Linked DNA regions of Homo sapiens: region 2 is linked to region 1. The links are contacts of gene promoters, found by promoter capture Hi-C in human tissues and cell types (Jung and others, 2019). All regions are on one chromosome and are shown on one strand. Each heading gives the region's core, a stretch centred on a gene start or on the middle of the fragment in contact. The rest is flanking DNA. Distances are from core to core; before and after follow the strand shown. Region 1 holds the start of MOCOS (molybdenum cofactor sulfurase). Region 2 overlaps MOCOS (molybdenum cofactor sulfurase).

Evidence for each region. The method cuts DNA at HindIII sites, captures the fragments that hold promoters and counts their contacts. A contact is called where the count stands out against the background at its distance.
Region 2: a contact is called between a fragment that was not itself captured here and the fragment with the promoter of MOCOS in region 1, in 1 of the 25 tissues and cell types used here (heart left ventricle).

Annotation. Positions count from the first base shown.
Region 1 is chr18:36,186,091-36,190,723 of GRCh38, forward strand. MOCOS (molybdenum cofactor sulfurase) reads left to right here and starts at 1,407. Exons shown (of 15, transcript NM_017947.4): 1 at 1,407-1,591. The coding sequence starts at 1,450. It overlaps COSMOC (cell fate and sterol metabolism associated divergent transcript of MOCOS), which reads right to left and starts at 1,345. Exons shown (of 2, transcript NR_134605.1): 1 at 1,145-1,345. RefSeq lists an enhancer at 1-451 and silencers at 1,211-1,474, 1,320-1,509. The HindIII fragment of the contact is 25,317 bases long and covers 1-4,633 here.
Region 2 is chr18:36,231,895-36,236,460 of GRCh38, forward strand. All of the region lies in intron 9 of MOCOS (molybdenum cofactor sulfurase), which reads left to right. Among named protein-coding and RNA genes, the nearest start is that of MOCOS, 47 kb to the left of the region's middle. The HindIII fragment of the contact is 3,959 bases long and covers 1-3,870 here.

The DNA of each region.
Region 1 (4,633 bases), core at 157-2,656:
GGGGGAAATGAGCTCTTAGTGGCGGGTCTTTCTCTGGCCTGGTATCAGGGGCCTGGGCGGGAGAGCCAGGGCTGCGTGCTGCCTTCCCATGGCTCTCACGCTGGGCACCGGTATGCATCATGCATCAGCAAGGATCCTAGGGCATCTGCGGCCCATACCCTGGGTGGCAGCTGGCCTGGATGCAGCACAGGTTGAGCTCTTGGGGCATAGGCCTCCTTCCCACCTTGTCCCCCCGCTGTATGCCTCCAGGGCCTGTGGGCCGCCTGCACCTGGTCGCCGGCCTTGGGTTCTCCACCGAGCCTGCCTCTGAGTTATCTCCCCTGAGCCCCAGCACCTGCCGCCCATCCGCACTGTCCACCATCCCTGACATTCGATTCCCCCACGAGGCACCTCGCCTGTGCGTGCAGTACCTGTTTTGCTTCCACCCCATTCCCAGCAGCGGGTTCCGCACCTGGGATCGCACGTGAGATTTCCCCCCACCCCCCAACCGCATGCCTGGGCTCTACTACCTGCACCTGCCGCCCCACCCCTGCATCCCGCTCCGCACTTCCCGCGCATAGGTTTGGCCAGGCCCTCCCTATTGAGGCACCTGTTCTCCAAGACAGAGCCGCTGTGTCCCAGGTGCTCTGGGTGCAGGCGCGAGTGGGGATTGAAGGAGGCGCTCTTATTCCACTCTGTCCGGGACAGGGGCGGCTTTGTCCTAGGGCACTCTTGCTTTAATAGAGAGGGCCCGGCCACACCCACGTGCGGGAAGTGCGGGGCGGGATGCAGGGTTGGGGAGGCAAGGGCAGGAAGTAGGGCCCAGGACGCGGTTGGGAGGGCGGGGAAGCTCAGCTCACTTGGATCCCAGCTGCAGGGCCCGCTCCGGGGGAAGCCCCCGAGCTTCCCGGTTCCGAAAGTGTGCAGCCACTGAGAATTTATTAGCCTCGTGGATCCCTAATCTTTCCCCTTTTCTACCCTTTGGTCAGCCGCATTCTAACAAACGGCAAGCACACGCCCCGCTGGGTAGCAGCAACCCGAGAACGCCCCCACCCCCGCCCCCGCCAGACGCCGGTTCCCGCTTGAGAGGGTGAGGGTCCCGAGACCCCTGCGAGGAGGAGGGTCGCGGGGTTCCAGGATGCCGATGCCAAGCAGGAAAGATCACCTCGTTGCTTCTTCCACCGGCCTCTCCGCGAGACATAGCTAAACTTGAACTTGGCATTCCAAGGGTCTGGAAACATCTTCGTGGGACCCATCGAGAGGTTGTTTAAAGACTGGCACCCGCTCCCGCGCCCAGGTGGGGAAAGGGCTGGCCAGAAGTGAAAGTCCGGTCGGGGCGCCACACCTAGGCTGCGGATTCCGAGAGACTGGGAGGCTGGAGGCCTGGGAGGCGTGGCGGGGGCGGAGTCGCCGGGGGCCGGCTTCGCGCACTTCCCGGGCCCGGCCGGCCTGGATGGACTAGCCGGGGCCATGGCCGGCGCGGCGGCGGAGTCAGGGCGGGAGCTGTGGACCTTCGCGGGTTCCCGGGACCCGAGCGCACCGCGGCTAGCCTACGGCTACGGCCCGGGCAGCCTGCGCGAGCTGCGGGCGCGCGAGTTCAGCCGCCTGGCAGGTGAGGCGGGCGGGCAGGCTTGGGGGACACGAGGTTTCTGGAACCGACGTGGACGGATCTTTTGCTCCTAGTGAGAGCGGCGCTACCTCATTCGGGCGCATTTTGAATCGAAACTCCAGGAGGGACGTGTCCACGCGTCCTCCTAGTAGACACGGCTCCCTGAGGTCCCACCTGCAGCCCCAAGGCTTCTTGCTACTCTTACTCTTCCGACTTTCCGGTGGGCAGGACCAACCTAGCCGTCTTCCCCTTTTCCCGCCCTCCGCGAGCGGGGCTTAGGATGGTTCTTGCCCTCTCTTGCGGGAGACCCCTCACTGTAAAGGGCCTGCTGGGGCCGGGGTTGCAAAAGACAGCATGTCCAGCGGCCGTGACCCTTCGGATGTCCTCCCGAGGTAGGAGCGGTGCGTGGACCGCCAGCGCCCGGGCTGGGACAGCACCTCTGACGGCGCGCCAGGTTGGGACCGGGAGGCCAAGGCCTCTTGGCCGGGGCCTCCCGAGGCTGCGCTCTGCAGACTCCTCTGGGATAGCCTGTATTCAGCTTTGATTTTCGAAACCTCATTTTCCTTACTCTTACAGCGTCAGAACAATCCCTCTGAGCTCCAGTTCTCTGGGGGACTAGAAGAATTAGCAAACAGTGCAATTTCACCTTTAAGAACAGGGCGAGCCTGTGAATTAGACAACACCAAGATCACATCGTGCCTTTCCTCAGAGCGGAACAGGCTGATGAAATTGCAAATCAAGCTCCATCTGGCCTTGGCCGACCCAGCCCTCTGCTGCCAGGGCCCAAGTTCGTGACTCATCCCTCTGCCAGGGACTTTGGGTGCAGGGCTTCATCAAGCCCCAGGGCCGCGTGCCGGATGGTCAAGGAGGGTGTGCAGGTGAAGTGGGCACGTCTTGGCACAGGGCACCGGGGTTTGAGTGTATCTGCTCTGTCGCGATGAACAACTGGTGACTGCTCCCCTTCTGGGGGCAGAACAGCAACCATGACTTAGGTTTCACTACTCGGGTAGCTGATTTCAGCGCTTCGGGTCACTTCCTGGTGTTGTGGAGGGTAACTGTGTTTTCCCTTTGGGGGCTGTGAGAACTGTGGCCTCCTCCTGTGTGTCTCCTCTGGCTTCCTAAGTAGGGAGAGTCAGGAGGGAGACGGGGGTGCCTTCTGCCAACCTCTCTATTCACTCCTCATCCTTCCCTCTCGCAGGGTCACCTGCTGGAGACAGCTCCTCACCCTTCTTTCGTATTCTCTCTCTCTCTCTCTCTCTCAACTATTAATTATGGAAATTTCCTACCACTCAGAAATAGAGGGGTACTATGAATGCCTACAGGTGCTGGGGAGGGAGGCTCTCCATTCTTTGAAGCAACTCTTCAAGGCTACCTGAGTAATTATATCAGCACCGCACCTCCTTAATCCCCTAAATCTCCTCCAGCTGTGATCTCTCACGCCCACTATTGGCCAACCTCTCCCCTCAATGCTACCCTGGGAAAGTAGAGCTATGTTCTGGTCCCCTCCTGGTTTCACTCTTGTCCCTCAGAGAACAGTACTTTTCCCCTCAAATGCAAAATTGGGATGTGTCAGCCAGGCTGGCCCTCAGAACTCGTTACCACTTACTGTATGTCTGGTAGTGTTGTGGGCATCTTTTATTTAATGCAAGTTCCTTGTATTTCCTCTACATTACGGTTAAAGCAGACATTTGTGCACTAATCTGACGCCCCTCCCACTGCTGGGAGTCTTGGAACATGTCCACTTGTTTTTCTCCTAGAAACAAGACAGAGAGAGGGCGGGAAAAAACAAACCAAAATAACATCACCTCTTCCTCGTTCCTCCTCTCCCCTCATGAAGTTTTTCTGCCAATTTGAGAATTACTCTGGTTAAGTGGTGGCTCAGAATAATTAAATGCTTAAGATTTAAGTGCTGAAATGTGTTACCTAAAGATTTGGATGGGAACTTCCTTGCCTTTGTGAAGGGAGAGTATTGAATATACGGATGTGTGTCAAGGGTCTCTGGAAGCCTTCGTGCTGAATCATGACCACTCACCATGCTGGAAAGAGAACTGGAGGGGGATGACCTAGAGCTGACCCTGGAATTCTCTTTCCTGAAGAAGGTCTGATGCCATTTAACTTTGGGGTAATTCACCTGTTTCTAATAACAGCTACACCTGTGTCCCGAGCATTGGACTGGATGCTGCCATATAGCAGCTCATTTAACCTTTGTCCCATCTGCAGATGAAAGAACAGGGGCCCAGAATGGCTACTGGTGGAGCCAGGATTCAAGTCTGGGTTGATTGACTTGGATTTTGTACTGTTAACCCCTATGCTGCCTGACTTTCTCCTAACATCACATCTATGGGTGATTTAACACAGCTTTCCCACCCTTTTGTTTTTCCTGCAAAATTAACCATTGGACCAAAAGCCAAAGCATCTTCTTCTCCAATAGCTACTTGGCCCTCCAGAAGACTGTGGCACAGTGTGAGATGCTCCCCAGCAGCTTCCAGGTCTCACCTGTGGCCTTGATGCCTGGGTGAACAAAAGCCTTTCTTTTGGTTTGGTACCTTTGTATTTCTGAATCTTTAGTAAAAGCGAACATTGTTTTAAAAGTATCTTTTTGGACTAGCTCATACATTTGATATGGTTTGGCTCTGTGTCCCCACCTAAATCTCGTGTTGAATTGTAATTCCCAGTGTTGGGGGAGGGACCTGGTAGGAGGTGATTGGATCAAGGGGGTGGATTTCCCCCTTGCAGTTCTCGTGAGGGTGCGTTCTCACAAGATCCGGTTGTTTAAAGTGTGTAGCACAAACTGGGTATGGTGGCTCAAGCCTGTAATCCTAGCACTTGGGAGGCTGAGGTGGGCAGATCACTTGAGCCCAGGAGTTCAAGACCAGCCTGGGCAACATGGTGAAACCCCGTCTCTACAAAATATACAAAAATTAGGCAGGCATGGTAGCTCATGCCTAAAGTCCCAGCTACTGTGGAGGCTGAGGTGGGAGAATTGCTTGAGCCTGGAAAGTCAGAGCTGCAGTGAGCTGAGATTGCACCACTTCACTCCAGTCT
Region 2 (4,566 bases), core at 641-3,140, 46 kb after region 1:
ATAAAAAGATTTCTAAGACCCAGGCACTTCCTTGATCCAACCAAATTCTAGTGTCATTAAAATTCTTTTTTTTGTTGTTTTGGTTTTTTTGAGACACGTTCTCACTGTGTCACCCAGGCTGGAGTGCAGTGACACAATCTCAGCTCACTGCAACCTCCATCTCCTGGGCTCAAGCCTCAAGCGATCCTGCTACCTCAGCCTCCGGAGTAGCTGGGACCACAGGCATGTGCCACCACATCCAGCTAATTTTTGATATTTTCAGTAGAGATGGGGTTTTGCCATGTTGCCCAGGCTGGTCTGAAACTCCTGAGCTCAAGCGATCCACCTGCCTCGGCCTCTGAAATTGCTGAGATTCCAGGTATGAGCCACCATGCCTGACCTTAAAATTATTGTATATTTCATAATAATGAGCTTTGATTTACAGTTATTCCTTTTTAATTTTGAACAGATACAGTAATTGTACATATTTATGGTGTACAATGTGATACTTTGATACATGCATACAATATGTAATAATAAAATCAGTGTAATGATCAAATCAGTGTAATTATATAGCATATTCATCACCTCAAATATTTATCATTTCTTTGTGTTGAGGATGTTTAAAATCCTCTTTTCTAGCTATTTTGAAATATTTAATAAATTATTGTTAACCATAGTCACCCTATTGTGCTACAGAATACTAGACCTTATTCCTCCTATATACCTGTAATTTTGTACCCATTAACCAACCTCTCCCTATCCCCTTCTTTATCCTACCCGTCCCTGCTTTTGGTAACTACTATTCTACTCTTTACTTCTATGAGATCAACTTAAAAAATTCCCACATATGAGTGAGAACATGCAGTATTTGTCTTTTTATGCCTGGCTTATTTTACTTAACATAATGTCCTTCAGGCTCATCCATGTTGCTGCAAATAACATAATTTCCTTCTTTTTTATGGCTGAATAATATTCCATTACACACACACACACACACACACACACACACACACCATTTTCTTTATCCATTCATTAATTGATGAACACTTAAGTTGATTCCATAACTTGGCTACTGTGAATAGTGCTGCAATAAAAATGGGAATGCAGATATATCTTAAACATACTGATTTTCCTCTCCTTCGTTATTATTATTATTATCACTTCAATAGTTTTTGGGAAACAGGTGGTGTTTAGGTACATGGGTAAGTTCTTTAGGTGTGATTTCTGAGATTTTGGTGTACTCATCACCCGAGCAGTGTACACTGCACCCAGTTGATAATCTTTTATCTCTCAACTCCCCTCCACCCTTTTCTGCAAGTCTCCAGAGTCCATTATGTCATTCTTATGTCTTTATATCCCCATAGCTTAGTTTCCACTTATAAGAGAGAACATACAATGTTTGTTTTCCATTCCTGAATTACTTCCCTAAAAATAATGGTCTCCAACTCTATCCAGATTGTTGCAAATGCCATTATTTAGTTCCTTTTAATGGCTGAGTAGTATTCCATGGTGTTTGTGTGTTTGTATACCCACATCATATTTTCTTTATCCACGCATTGGCTGATGAGCATTTAGGCTGGTTCCATATTTTTGCAATTGTGAATTGTGCTGCTATAAACATATGTGCACAAGTGTCTTTTTTATATAATGACTTCTTTTCCTCTGGGTAAATACCCAGTAGTAGGGTTGCTGGATCAAATTGTGGTTCTACTTTTAGTTCTTTAAGGAAACTCCATATTGTTTTCCATAGTGGTTTTACTAGTTTACATTCCCACCAGCAGTGTAAAGTGTTCCCTTTTCACCACATCTATGCCAGCATCGATTATTTTTCAATTTTTAAATTATGGTCATTCTTGCAGGAGTAAGGTGGTATTACATTGTGGTTTTGATTTGCATTTCCCTGATAATTAGTAATGATGAGCATTTTCTCATGTTTGTTGGCCATTTGTATATCTTCTTTTGAAAAATTTCCATTCATGTCCTTAGCCCACTTTTTGATGAGATTATTTGGTTTTTGTTGCTGATTTGTTTGAGTTCCTTGTAGAATTCTGGATATTAGTCCTTCGTCAGATGCGTGGTTTGCAAATATTCTCTCTCACTTTGTGGATTGTCTCTTTACTTTTCTGGGTATTTCTTTTGCTGTGCAGAAGCTTTTTAAATTAGGTCCCATCTATTTATCTTTGTTTTAGTTGCATTTACTTTTGGGTTCTTGGTCATGAATTCTTTGCTTACCGCAATATCTAGAAGGGTTTTTCCAATGTTACCTTCTAGGATTTTTATGGTTTCATGTCTTAGATTTAAGTCTTTGATCCATCTTCAGTTGATTTTTGTATAAGGTGAGAGATAAGGATCCATTTTCATGTTTTTACATGTGGCTGGCCAGTTATCCCAGCACCATTTGTTGAATAGGGTGTCCTTTCCCCACTTTGTTTTTGTTTGCTTTGTCGAAGATCAGTTGGCTGTAAGTATTTGGCTTTATTTCTGGGTTCTTTATTCTGTTCCATTGGTCTGTGTGCCTGCTTTAATACCAGTGCCATGCTGTTTTGGTAACAGTAGCCTTGTATTATAGTTTGAAGTTGGGTAATGTGATGCCTTCAGATTTTTCTTTTTGCTTAGTCTTGCTTTGGCTAAGTGGGCTGTTTTTTTGTTTCCATACGGATTTTAGGATCATTTTTTCCTAGTTCTGTGAATAATGATGACGGCATTTTGATGGGAATTGCACTGAATTTGTATATTTCTTTTAACAGCATGGTCATTTTCACAATATTGATTCTAGCCATCCATGAGCATTAGTCCATTTGTATTGTTGTGTTAGCCTGTTTTCACACTGCTATAAAGAAATACCTGAGACTGGGTAATTTATAAAGGAAAGAGGTTCAATTGACTCACAGTTTTAAATGGCCGGGGAAGCCTCAGGAAACTTACAATTATGGTGGAAGGCAAAGGGAAATGAGGACCTTCTTCACATGGTGGCAAGAGAGAGAAGGGCAAAGGAGGAACTTCCAAACATTTATAAAACCATCAGATCTCATAAGAACTTACTCACTATCATGCAAACAGCATGGAGGAAACTGTCCCCATGATCCAATCACCTCCCTCCCTTGATATCTAGGGATCACAACTTGAGATGAGATTTGGATGGGGATACAGAGCCACACCATATTATTCTGCCCCTGGCCCCTCCCAAATCTCATGTCTTTTAACATTTCAAAACCAATCATGCCTTCTCAACAGTACCCCAAAATCAATTTTTTTAAATTTTTTTATTATTATACTTTAAGTTTTAGGGTACATGTGCACATTGTGCAGGTTAGTTACATACGTATACATGTGCCATGCTGGTGTGCTGCACCCACTAACTCATCATCTAGCATTAGGTATATCTCCCAATGCTATCCCTCCCCCCTCCCCCCACCCACAACAGTCCCCAGAGTGTGATGTTCCCCTTCCTGTGTCCATGTGATCTCATTGTTCAATTCCCACCTATGAGTGAGAATATGCGGTGTTTGGTTTTTTGTTCTTGTGATAGTTTACTGAGAATGATGATTTCCAATTTCATCCATGTCCCTACAAAGGACATGAACTCATCATTTTTTATGGCTGCATAGTATTCCATGGTGTATATGTGCCACATTTTCTTAATCCAGTCTATCATTGTTGGACATTTGGGTTGGTTCCAAGTCTTTGCTATTGTGAATAATGCCGCAATAAACATACGTGTGCATGTGTCTTTATAGCAGCATGATTTATAGTCCTTTGGGTATATACCCAGTAATGGGATGGCTGGGTCAAATGGTATTTCTAGTTCTAGATCCTGAGGAATCGCCACACTGACTTCCACAATGGTTGAACTAGTTTACAGTCCCAACAACAGTGTAAAAGTGTTCCTATTTCTCCACATCCTCTCCAGCACCTGTTGTTTCCTGACTTTTTAATGATTGCCATTCTAACTGGTGTGAGGTGGTATCTCATTGTGGTTTTGATTTGCATTTCTCTGATGGCCAGTGATGGTGAGCATTTTTTCATGTGTTTTTTGCCTGTATAAATGTCTTCTTTTGAGACGTGTCTGTTCATGTCCTTCGCCCACTTTTTGATGGGGTTGTTTGTTTTTTTCTTGTAAATTTGTTTGAGTTCATTGTAGATTCTGGATATTAGCCCTTTGTCAGATGAGTAGGTTGTGAAAATTTTCTCCCATTTTGTAGGTTGCCTGTTCACTCTGATGGTAGTTTCTTTTGCTGTGCAGAAGCTCTTTAGTTTAATTAGATCCCATTTGTCAATTTTGGCTTTTGTTGCCATTGCTTTTGGTGGTTTAGACATGAAGTCCTTGCCCATGCCTATGTCCTGAATGGTAATGCCTAGGTTTTCTTCTAGGGTTTTTATGGTTTTAGGTCTAACATTTAAGTCTTTAATCCATCTTGAATTGATTTTTGTATAAGGTGTAAGGAAGGGATCCAGTTTCAGCTTTCTACATATGGCTAGCCAGTTTTCCCAGCACCATTTATTAAATAGAGAATCCTTTCCCCATTGCTTGTTTTTCTCAGGTTTGTCAAAGATCAGATAGTTGTAGATATGTGGCGTTATTTC